Regions from separate parts of the Homo sapiens genome. Here all the other regions are linked to region 2. Evidence: promoter capture Hi-C in 16 types of primary human blood cells and fetal thymus (Javierre and others, 2016). All regions are on one chromosome and are shown on one strand. Each heading gives the region's core, a stretch centred on a gene start or on the middle of the fragment in contact. The rest is flanking DNA. Distances are from core to core; before and after follow the strand shown. Region 1 overlaps PRLR (prolactin receptor). Region 2 holds the start of SPEF2 (sperm flagellar 2). Region 3 overlaps PRLR (prolactin receptor).

Evidence for each region. Contacts are between HindIII fragments. The CHiCAGO score rates a contact against its expected background, and 5 or more counts as called.
Region 1: a fragment that was not itself captured here is called in contact with the fragment with the promoter of SPEF2 in region 2 in 9 of 17 cell types (naive CD4 T cells, naive CD8 T cells, non-activated CD4 T cells and 6 more); the score reaches 9.7 in naive CD4 T cells.
Region 3: a contact is called between a fragment that was not itself captured here and the fragment with the promoter of SPEF2 in region 2, in 1 of 17 cell types (M1 macrophages). The highest score is 5.7, in M1 macrophages.

What each region holds. Positions count from the first base shown.
Region 1 is chr5:35,093,401-35,097,116 of GRCh38, reverse strand. All of the region lies in intron 2 of PRLR (prolactin receptor), which reads left to right. Among named protein-coding and RNA genes, the nearest start is that of AGXT2, 47 kb to the right of the region's middle. The HindIII fragment of the contact is 6,019 bases long and covers 1-3,716 here.
Region 2 is chr5:35,615,667-35,619,384 of GRCh38, reverse strand. SPEF2 (sperm flagellar 2) reads right to left here and starts at 1,522. Exons shown (of 37, transcript NM_024867.4): 1 at 1,330-1,522. The coding sequence starts at 1,387. RefSeq lists an enhancer at 672-1,479. The HindIII fragment of the contact is 5,837 bases long and covers 1-3,248 here.
Region 3 is chr5:35,065,621-35,069,019 of GRCh38, reverse strand. PRLR (prolactin receptor) reads left to right here. Exons shown (of 10, transcript NM_000949.7): 8 at 142-241; 9 at 735-804; 10 at 2,918-3,399. Among named protein-coding and RNA genes, the nearest start is that of AGXT2, 19 kb to the right of the region's middle. The HindIII fragment of the contact is 240 bases long and covers 1,182-1,421 here.

The DNA of each region.
Region 1 (3,716 bases), core at 667-3,166, 520 kb after region 2:
GGAAGGCTGCCTTAGAGGACTCAGAGAATTTACGTGTCAGGTGATAGCATGTAAGTCAGTGGTTTTCAACCCCAGCTTTAATTTAGAATCATCTAGAAAGGTTTTTTTTAAAATGCCCATGTCCTTCCAAGTGGGCTCAATTCTGAGCCAATTAGTGAGAATGTCCAGGGACAAAACAAAGAAATGAAAAATTTTAAGGCCGGGCACAGTGGCTCACGCCTGTAATCCCAGCACTTTGGGAGGTTGAGGTGGGCAGATCACTTGAGACCAGGAGTTCAAGACCAGCCTGGCCAACATGGTAAAGCCCGTCTCTACTGAAAATACAAAAATTAGCCAGGCGTGATGGTGCAGATCTGTAATCTCAGCTACTCTGGTGACTAAGGCAGGGGAATCACTTGAACCTGGGAGGCAGAGGCTGCAGTGAGCTGAAATCGTGTCACTGCACTCCTGCCTGGGTGTCAGAACAAGATTCTGTCTCAAAAAAAAAAAAAGAAAGTAAAGAAAAGAAATTTTAAGACACTCCTTGGACTGTAATGGGAATCCTGGATTAGAAACCACTGATGTCTATAGAACAGCTCTGTAAACTGCAAAACATAATGTATGATTTATGGGTGTTTTTTGATTGTTAGTAACTGATTGATGATCTCATGAGGGACTAGTTCCTCTGAAAATCAGGCCAACGTGGGTTTTCCACCATCTGTCCTACATGTGCACTGGCTGGGGGAAATTGAAACTCATCCAATTCCTATTCTTGCCTTTAAGCCAAAAAGACTGCTCGAAAACAAGCCTCCTTGGGATAAAAGATGTTGCTAGGATGAGGAAGCTGTAGTGAGTGAGTGGAGTTAATGTGATTAGATTTGGAAGCAATACTTCCAGCCATGGGGAAGCATCGGTGTTCTGTGTTATTAAAGTGACTCCAGTGCAAAGGCACATATATCGTATTGGAGTAATTTGCCCTGACTAGGTTAGAAGCCAGGAGATGGTTCTTCACAGGTATTCCTGAGTGGCCCAAGGTCTAAGTCAGCTCTCGTTTAGACAAATCCTATCTCTGCTGATCATCTACCTCTCACCAAATGCAGCCATCACCATGCACAGCACATGCGCTCCTCTTGATGATCTTCACAGAGTGCAGAGTCTTCAGGAAGTTCTTTCCTCAGTGGAACCTTTGGGATTTCTAGGAGAGGGGCAGGGGAATATCTGGAATCAGAGGTGAACACTTTACAGCAGCCTCTAAACTACTTCTAATTACGTTCACCTGACTAAACTGCCAGGTGATAAACGTTTTATATAAAAGTAATTCACTATGGAAAGTTCTGGATGTTTTCCCCAATGGGTACCTCAAAACAGGGTACAAGATGGAAACCTGCTCAAGAAACAGCAAAATGTAAACTGGATAATGGTGATGATAAAAAAATAATAATGAATGACCACACGAGCAAGTGTCCTCTTGTGAACTTTCACAGACAAATGCATAGATATGCTGCCTGGACTATGGGCAGATAAACATTCATTGTGGGCACATGTTTGTGTGAAGCTAATTATTGGCAGAGCAAGAACAGCTGGAACTTTCATCTCCCCACCTGCAGGCCAGGGTTCTCTTGGCACTATATCCTCAGTTTTCAATGTCTTCCTGAAAGAGCGGCTGCCATGTTCTCCTTAAAACTTCTTTAGATTCCCCTGTCAAATACTGAAAACTATGCTGGCTGTAAGTCTAGTGTTTGAAATACCAGCGTGGGACCAGTCTTCCTATATGCAGAGTTTTGTCCCATGTCTTAGAATCTTTTTCTGTTTTCTTCACCTTTTGGGCTTCATTTATTCACAATCATTGACTGTTGACATTGGGCAGAGCTTGTATAACAGTCTTAATCTTTAGCCTGGTATGTAATATCTAATCCCTGCTGTTCCTCTTCCCGCCCTGAGCACATTATGTCCTTTACTTTCCAGATTAAGTGTTGGCATTCTGTACTGGAAAGAAAACTCCAACTTCTTGCCATGTGCAGTGGCTCATGCCTGTAATCACAGACCTTTGGGAGGCCAAGGCGGGTAAATTTCCTGAGCTCAGGAGTTTGAGACCAGCCTGGGCAACATGGCAAAACCCCATCACTGCAGAATATACAAAAATTAGCTGGGTGTTGGTGGCTCGTGCCTCTAGTCCCCACTACTCAGGAGGCTGAGGTGGGAGAATCACCTGACCCAGGGAGGTCCAGGCTGCAGTGAGCGGTGATCATGCCACTGCACTCCAGCCTGGGCAACAGAACAAGACCCCGTCTCAAAAAAAAAAAAAAAAAAAAAGCCCAACTCCTGGAAATCAAATGGTACCTGATGTGAGGTTTTCTCCCTGTTATGTTAGCCTCAGGCCATCTAACCCAGGTAGAACAAGGCAGGTAAGGAAACCCAGTGGGCCAAGGACCCCGAAGGAAGCCCTTAACACAATGCCTAATACTGAAAACAACGGATGAATGTATTCAAAATTTGTTTGCAAGAAATGAGACTTTTTGCCTTTTTAGGACAAAAAAAGCACTTGAAATTTAATTTAGGTTAACAGGAGATATGGCGGGTAGCACAGAGTGATTATGAAATGCACAGGGCTTCCCTGCCATTCGAGTTTTGATCAATCTCAGCAAAACCCAAAGTTTGCCAAAACCTGGAAACAACTCAAATGTCCATCAACACAGTAGAATGAATAAATGAGTTATGGTATTTCATTCAATATAACATGAATGAAAATGAATGAGATGAAATGAAAATGAATTATGTAAAACTACATGTAACAACAAGGATGAATCCTACACCCATGTGAAATGAAAGAAGCCACACACACACACACTCAAGAAATGCATGTTGTATGATCCTATTTATATAAAGTTCAAAGGTAGGTAAAATTAATCTGTACTGTTAGAAGTGGGAAGAATGGTTTCTATCAGGAAGGAGTAGGTAGAGATTGGGAGGAGTTGCAAGTTGGATTTCTGGGGTGCTACTGGTGGTTAATCTCTTGACCTGAGTGGTAACATAGATATATTCTTTTTGTGATACTTCATTGAGCAGAATACAGTCATAAGTGTCGCTTCATGATAGGGCTAAGTTCTGAGAAATGTGTCAAGAGATTTCATTGTTGTACCAACATCATAGAGTATACTTATACAAACCTAGATTGTATAGCCTACTACACACCTAGGCTAGATGACATAGCCTATTGCTCCCAGGCTACAAACCTATACAGCTGTCACAGAACTGAATACTGTAGGCAATTGTTACAGAATGGTAAGTGTTTGTGTATCTAAATATATCTAAACATAGAAAAAGAACAGTAAACATACAGCATTATAATCTTATGGGACCACCATCATATATATGGTCCATCATTAACTGAAATGTCATTATGTGGCACATGACTGTACTTACAATTTGTGCATGTCATATGTATGATAGTCTAAAGTTCAAATGTTGGATTGGGCCTTGCTTGATTATCCAGGAACTGAGTTTGCAAGAGCTAAAAAGAACCTCAGAATCCCTGCCTAACAGGGATGGCAGGGTCCATTTCTGGACCCTAATGGTAGGTCCATTTCTGGAGTTAGGAAAACTGAGTCAAAAACCTGAGTAGAAGGTTGCAGCAACAGATACAGCAGGACAGGTTGGGGACTGTACTCAGGGGGATCACCAGATACCAGTCTTGGGAGCAAGTTCCACAGAATGGTAGGGCTGAGATTGCTGGCAGG
Region 2 (3,718 bases), core at 273-2,772:
TAATAAAATAAATGAACTAAATTAAACTAAGCAATATGTAACTGCTTTTCTTTTAGAAGAGTACAACTTAAGGGCATGATATTTTATTTTGGCTCCTATGGTGAGACAGGAATAAGAAACAATAAATGCTAAATATTGTCCTCAGTCCATCATATTTTAGCAAATAAACAGTTGGAGACACAATGGGATAATCGTAGAATACCAGGAAAGAATTTATTGCAGTTCACAGGGAGTGTGTAGATGGTTATTTGACAAAGAAAGAGTCTGAGGTTTATGCCTCAAGAAATGCAACAGGAGATGCTCCGTGCTAAAGATCCTCATGCTGAGAGTATTAATAACTACTTTGCACCCACAGAAACACTACCGATCTAGCAACTTCTGTAGATAAGCTAAGGTTGAACTGGCACCACTGCCTCTCTGGTAGCAAGCTGGTGTTAAGCAAGTTCTTCTGGGAAAATGGACTGAAATGACTTGCCCTGAAAACCTCTTCCCTTAAGCAAAAAAAGAAAAAAAGACAAACAAAACCAACTGAAAAATGAACTCCTGAAGAATTACAGGGCAGTCAAGGAAGCTGCCAGCATGTAAAATTGTCTCTGTGGTTGTCAGACTTGGAAACTTTGGGTGGCAACTGCATGGTTAGGATAAAATTAGGTTGGTGAATAAGGTCAGCTTTGGGCAAGAGCCAATAGTGACCAGAAATAGCTAGTTTGTGATTTGGGGCTTAAAATTTACTAAAATTTGTAAATGTTAACATATTCTACATTAACTTATTTTTCACCCACCCTCCCCTGCTGGTCAGTTAAGTATGGAAAGCATTATTAGGTCCATTTTATAGAGAAGGAAACACATTCAGAGAAGGTATTGTAACTTGTCCAGTGGCTTCATATTTCATCGACTAGCCACCACACCATGCTTCTGCTTCTGGTGATGTGAAGGAGGCATCGTTGGGGTCAGACTACAAAGTCCAGCAAAGTTCCCTCTCCACAGAAGCAAAGGAGACCTTCCTAAACCCTCTGATTGCCTAGAACCACATCACAAAGTCAGAATGCCTGCGGGTTGGGCCCACCGTGACAAGGGTAACTCGAGAGCGGCAGAGTGGGGACGTGACAAGGCCTTGCCCTGGCTGGGGTGAGCTGTAGGGAGGTGGCGGGACGGACCTGGGGCACCGCCGAGCCGAGTTGCTCACTGTGGGATGCTGCCGGCTACGCAGGTGCCCCACCTGTGCAGCTCGCGCCCTGCCCGCCACCTTCCCTGAGTGCGCTGCGCTGCGCTGCAGGCTCTGCGCCCCGCTAGCCCCTCAGACGCTCGCCCCTGGCCGTGGTCACTCACTCACGGTCCGGGACACCTTCAACTCCTTGTTGAGCCACTGGCACAGGATCTCCGACATGGTTCAGCCGGTGCCTCAGACCGCAGGCGGGGGCTTAGAAACTCGCCAGGAACCAAGCCTGCCAGCCCGCGTCCTCCTGTAGCCAAGGGCAACCCTTTGCTATGGAAGCGTATCCAGGCTGGAACTAGGCGAAAGGCCTTAGAGAAGAGGGGACGCTAGGGCTCAGCCGCAGAGGACAGAAAATCGTGTTTCGCCACCTGCTGGCGGGTAAGACCTGAGCGTGCGCCAGCGCAGGAGGAAGCCGTTGGGGGCCTGTGAGAGAAGTTAGGGAGCAGTGGGTGTGGGGAGAGGCGAGGCGGGAACACTTAGGGACACAGCAGGAGCTTCTTAGGTGAGCAGAAAGTAAAACCAGAGTCTCCGCAGGGCTCCGTGGCTCACGCAAATAATCCTACCACTTTGTGGAGGGGGTGGCGCTCGACTGAGCCTGGGAGTTCAAGACCAGCCTGGGCAAGGTAGCAGAAACCGTTTTTTTTTCTGTAAGAAATTAGGCGGCCGTGGTGGCGTGCGCCTGTGGTCCCACCAGCTCAGGATGCTGACGTGGAAGGATCAACCCAGGAGGCGGAGTTTACAGTGAACCGAGATCGAGCCACTGCACTCCAGCCTGGGCAACAAAATGAGACTCTGTCTCAAAAAAGAAGAAGAAAGAAGAAAGAATAACAAGAAGGAGAAGGAGAGGGAGAGGAAGAGGAGGAGGAGAAGAGGAAGAACAGGAGGAAAAGAAGAAAGAGAAGGAGAAGAAGGAGAACAAGGAGAAGGAGGAGAACAAGGAGAGATCAAAGAAGAGGAAGAAGAAGAAAAAAGAAGAGGAAGAAAAAGAAGAAGGGTATTTGGGGTATCCATCACCTTGAGTATTTATCATTTATATACGTTGGTAACATTTCAAATCTTCTCTTCTAGCTATTTTGAAATATACAATGTATCATTGCTAACTATAGTCACCCCAGTTGCTAGCTAACATTAGACCCTATTTCTTCCATCTAACTATAAGTTTGTACCCATTCACCAACCTCTCTTCATTTCCCCTTCCCACCCTCACATCCTTTCCAGTCTCTGGTACTCATAATTTTGTTCTCTATCTCCAGGGGATCAACTTTTTTAGCTACCACATATGAGTAAAACATGCAGTATTTGTCTTTCTGTTGCCTGGCCTATTTCATTGAACATAATGGCCTCCAGTTCATCCATGTTGCTGCAAATGACCTGTTTTCATTCTTTTCCATGGACAAATGGTATTCCGTTATGTATATATACCATTCTTTCTTTTTCCATTTGTTCGCTGATGGACACTTAGATTTATTCCATATCTTGGCTATTTTGAATAGTTCTGTGATAAACATGTGAGTGCAGGTATCCCTTTGATATACTGACTTCTTTTCCTTTGGATAGATACACTGTAGTGGAACTGCTGGATTTTATGGCAGTTCTGTTTTTAGTTTTTTGAGAAACCTCCATACTGCCTTCCATAGTGGTCATACTAATTTACATCCCCACCAACAGTATGAGTTCCCTTTTCTCCACATCTTCTCCAGCATCTGTTGTTTTTTGTCTTTTTAATAATAACCATTCTAACTGGGGTAAGATGGTATTTTATTGTGGTTTTGATATGCATTTGATAATTAGAGATGATGAATTTTTTCATATACCTGTTGGCCATTTGTACCTCTTCTTTTGAGAAATGTCTATCCGTGTCCTTTGCACACTTTTTAGTGGGATTGTTTGTTTTTTTAGTGTTGAGTTGTTTGAGTTTCTTGTATGTTGTGGATATGAGTCCCTTGTCAGATTAATAGTTTGCAAATATTTTCTTCCATTCAATGGGTTGTCTCTTCACTCCGTTGATTGTTTCATGTATTGTACAGAAGCTTTTTAGTTTAATATAGCCCCCAGTTGTCTATTTTTGTTTTAGTTGTCTGTGCTTTTGAGGTCTTATTCATAACATTTTTGCCTAGGCCAATGTCCTGAAGTGTTTTCCCTATGTTTTCTTCTAGTAGTTTTATAGGTTTAGGTCTAACATTTAAGTCTTTAATCCATCTTGAGTTGATATTTGTGTATGTGGTGAGAAATACTGTTCAGCTCTACTCTTCTGCATATGGATAGCCAACTTATCCAGCACCATTTATTGAAGAGAGGGTTCTTTCAACATAGTTCTTGGTGCCTCTGTTGAAAATCAGTTGGCTATAAATATGTGGATTTATTTCTGGGTTCTCTGTTCTGTTACATTGGTCTATGAGTCTATTTTTATACCACTACCAAGAAGTTTTGATTACTATAACCTTGTAATATAATTTGAAGTCAGATATTGTGCTGTTTCCAGCTTATGCTGTATTAATTACT
Region 3 (3,399 bases), core at 52-2,551, 550 kb after region 2:
GATACTTTGGATTGCTGTTCAAATCAAAAAAATATATGAATGGAGGAAAACACTCTTGGGTTTAAGAGTTTCATTCATTAGGTTGGTTTGTTTTTAATGATGCTGTACGTGATCAAAGCTTTCTGGCTGTTTGTTTTTTAGACTTCACCATGAATGATACAACCGTGTGGATCTCTGTGGCTGTCCTTTCTGCTGTCATCTGTTTGATTATTGTCTGGGCAGTGGCTTTGAAGGGCTATAGGTACTTCACTGTCTCTCAACTTTTCCTCCCAATCATGATAGTCAAGGATAATGACAAAAAAAAAAATACAAAGATGATGGAAACCTGTAGATAATCCTCATTTTAGCCATTAGATGTAGTGTGTTTGCCCATAAAAAAAATCTTTTATCAGTGCTATAAAAAGTAGAAAAATTGACTCGTTTCAGGCTGATGTTCTTTCTATGAAACAGAGATTCCTAGTTGTGAAACAGTAAAAATCTGGCAAGAGTAGCTAAAATCAAGAGAAGCAAATAGTCCAGATAATCCACTAACTTCAAAATCAGCCTCCTTAATTAGCTAAAGTTAATTTTAATATAGGCCTCTGTAATTTTATTTTCATCATTGATTGTTTCATGGAGCTGCCAAACCAAGTCCTATCTCTATCACAGTCCCTATAGTGGCTATTATACTAACCTTTCAAAAATTACAAAGTCAGAAATGAGTCATTTAGCCAATCTCATGAATTATTTTATAGCATGGTGACCTGCATCTTTCCGCCAGTTCCTGGGCCAAAAATAAAAGGATTTGATGCTCATCTGTTGGAGGTAAGTACAGGAGGCAAAAAAATGGAGTGTGACTCACTGCTCTGTAGTAATTAACTCTACACACTCACACACAGTCCCCGTCAGTTCAGCCTGGTAGTTTCAGCCAGCCTTTTTGGACTGTCTCTCCTGGTCAGCATGTGTGTTAACAGAAAGTTGTGTGAAGGATGAGGGTACTTACTTTCACACACTAAATGTCAGAGGGCAAGGAGAGAAAGCCAAGAAAACATGGAAACACATTTATTGATTTATCAGATCTACTCATAAGCATAGAGATAAACATTTTATACAAATAATCAATTTAGAAAGAGAGTGAATATTTTGATTAATGCAAAACAGGGACCCACCACCACCCCCTCAATCATACATTGGTAAAAGCTTCTACTTGAATGTTCTTTACATAAAGCCATAGTAACAGAATATCCCATTGCCATTATCTCTCACTTTGGGCACTCAGCTGAGACCAGATCAGTACTGTGGGGCCATCTGTTTGCCAGGACCCATTTGGGCTGATTCAAGAGGGAATTAAATAATGAGTGTTTTGAATGAAAAGAGAGGTTAGAACAGTTTTAAATTTTTCTCCAAATTGAAATAAATAGTTTCAGTTTGGCTTTTAAGCTTAACACTGACATATATAAAAGCAACTAGCTGTACATTAAGGCAAATACTTGACCCAGCTGCTCTGGGTCTGACAGTGTAAGAATAGAAGAATTGAGTCCTGGATAATCTGGCTTGTCTGTGTTCACTTTGGTTGCAAATATCGAAGCAGGGACTAGAGCCCAGGAGTCCCAGCTCCTGACCCAGTGCTCTTCCTCCACTATCCAGTGTAGCATTGGCCTGATAGAACCAGCATGAATGTCTCAGCAAACTAAACTAGTTACTGTCCAGCTCACAATTTAACCTGCTAGCCACAGAGACTTAACGATAAAATAGCTACTTTTGTCTCAAAAATATGTGTTAGTATTCTTAATGATATTACCTCTAATCCTCAAAAGAACCCTCCCAGATGGGTAGTATTAATATTATTTTCTACCTTTTAAAAATGGAGAAGCTGAAGTTCAGAGAGCAGCTTGTCCAAAGTCACATACCCTATAATAAGTGATAAAGCCAAGACCTAGGTCAGTACCTGACCCAAGTCAGAGGATAAGAAAAAAGAGGCCGGGCGCGGTGGCTCACGCCTGTAATCCCAGCACTTTGGAAGGCAGAGGCGGGCAGATCACGAGGTCAGGAGATCAAGACCATCCTGGCTAACATGGTGAAACCCTGTCTCTACTAAAAATGTAAAAAATTAGCCAGGCGTGGTGGTGGGCGCCTGTTGTCCCAGCTACTCGGGAGGCTGAGGCAGGAGAATGGCGTGAACCCGGGAGGCGGAGCTTGCAGTGATCCGAGATCATGCCACTGCACTCCAGCCTGGGCAACAGAGCGAGACTCCGTCTCAAAAAAAAAAAAAAAAAAAAGAGGCAAGAGTGAGAGGAGGAGGCAGGAGGAAATAGGAGGGGGAAAGGAAGGATAGAAGCAGGGAGAATAATAGGAAGGGCGGAAATATGGAATAGGGTGATGAAGGGGGAGAAGAGAAGGAGGGAGAGGAAGTAGAGTAGAAGAAAACAGTAGATTAGGAAGAGGGAGGAGAAGGGAAGGGGAAATAAGAAGAGGAAGGAGAGAAGGAAGATGAACCACAGAAGGAAAAGACAAGAATCCACTTACTATTGCCAGACTCTAGAAAGTGATAGAGGAAGTTAGCAGGCCAGCAACCACACCTCTGCCAGTGGGCCGCAGTGTCAGATGCATGCATAAGCACTGTGGGTTTAGAAGTTTCACAAACCTTCATTTTATAGTTATCTGTTTATTATTGTATGTGTATATACTACTTGCCCATTAAACTCATGATTATTATTGCTTGGAGAGAGACTACGTTAAATATCCTGAGTTGACTTTAAAAAAAAAAATCTGCTGAATAGTATCCAGAAGGTGATTCTAGATGGCCTGGCACACAAATGTCTGAAGTTTGAGATCTTCCCACCTGCTTGTGGCAATGAACAGCACCACTTAGCAGGGATGCTGATTTGGAATGTTATGAAGCTAACAGCCATCTCTTCTTGTGTCTGTGTTTTAATAGAAGGGCAAGTCTGAAGAACTACTGAGTGCCTTGGGATGCCAAGACTTTCCTCCCACTTCTGACTATGAGGACTTGCTGGTGGAGTATTTAGAAGTAGATGATAGTGAGGACCAGCATCTAATGTCAGTCCATTCAAAAGAACACCCAAGTCAAGGTATGAAACCCACATACCTGGATCCTGACACTGACTCAGGCCGGGGGAGCTGTGACAGCCCTTCCCTTTTGTCTGAAAAGTGTGAGGAACCCCAGGCCAATCCCTCCACATTCTATGATCCTGAGGTCATTGAGAAGCCAGAGAATCCTGAAACAACCCACACCTGGGACCCCCAGTGCATAAGCATGGAAGGCAAAATCCCCTATTTTCATGCTGGTGGATCCAAATGTTCAACATGGCCCTTACCACAGCCCAGCCAGCACAACCCCAGATCCTCTTACCACAATATTACTGATGTGTGTGAGCTGGCTGTGGGCCCTGCAGGTGC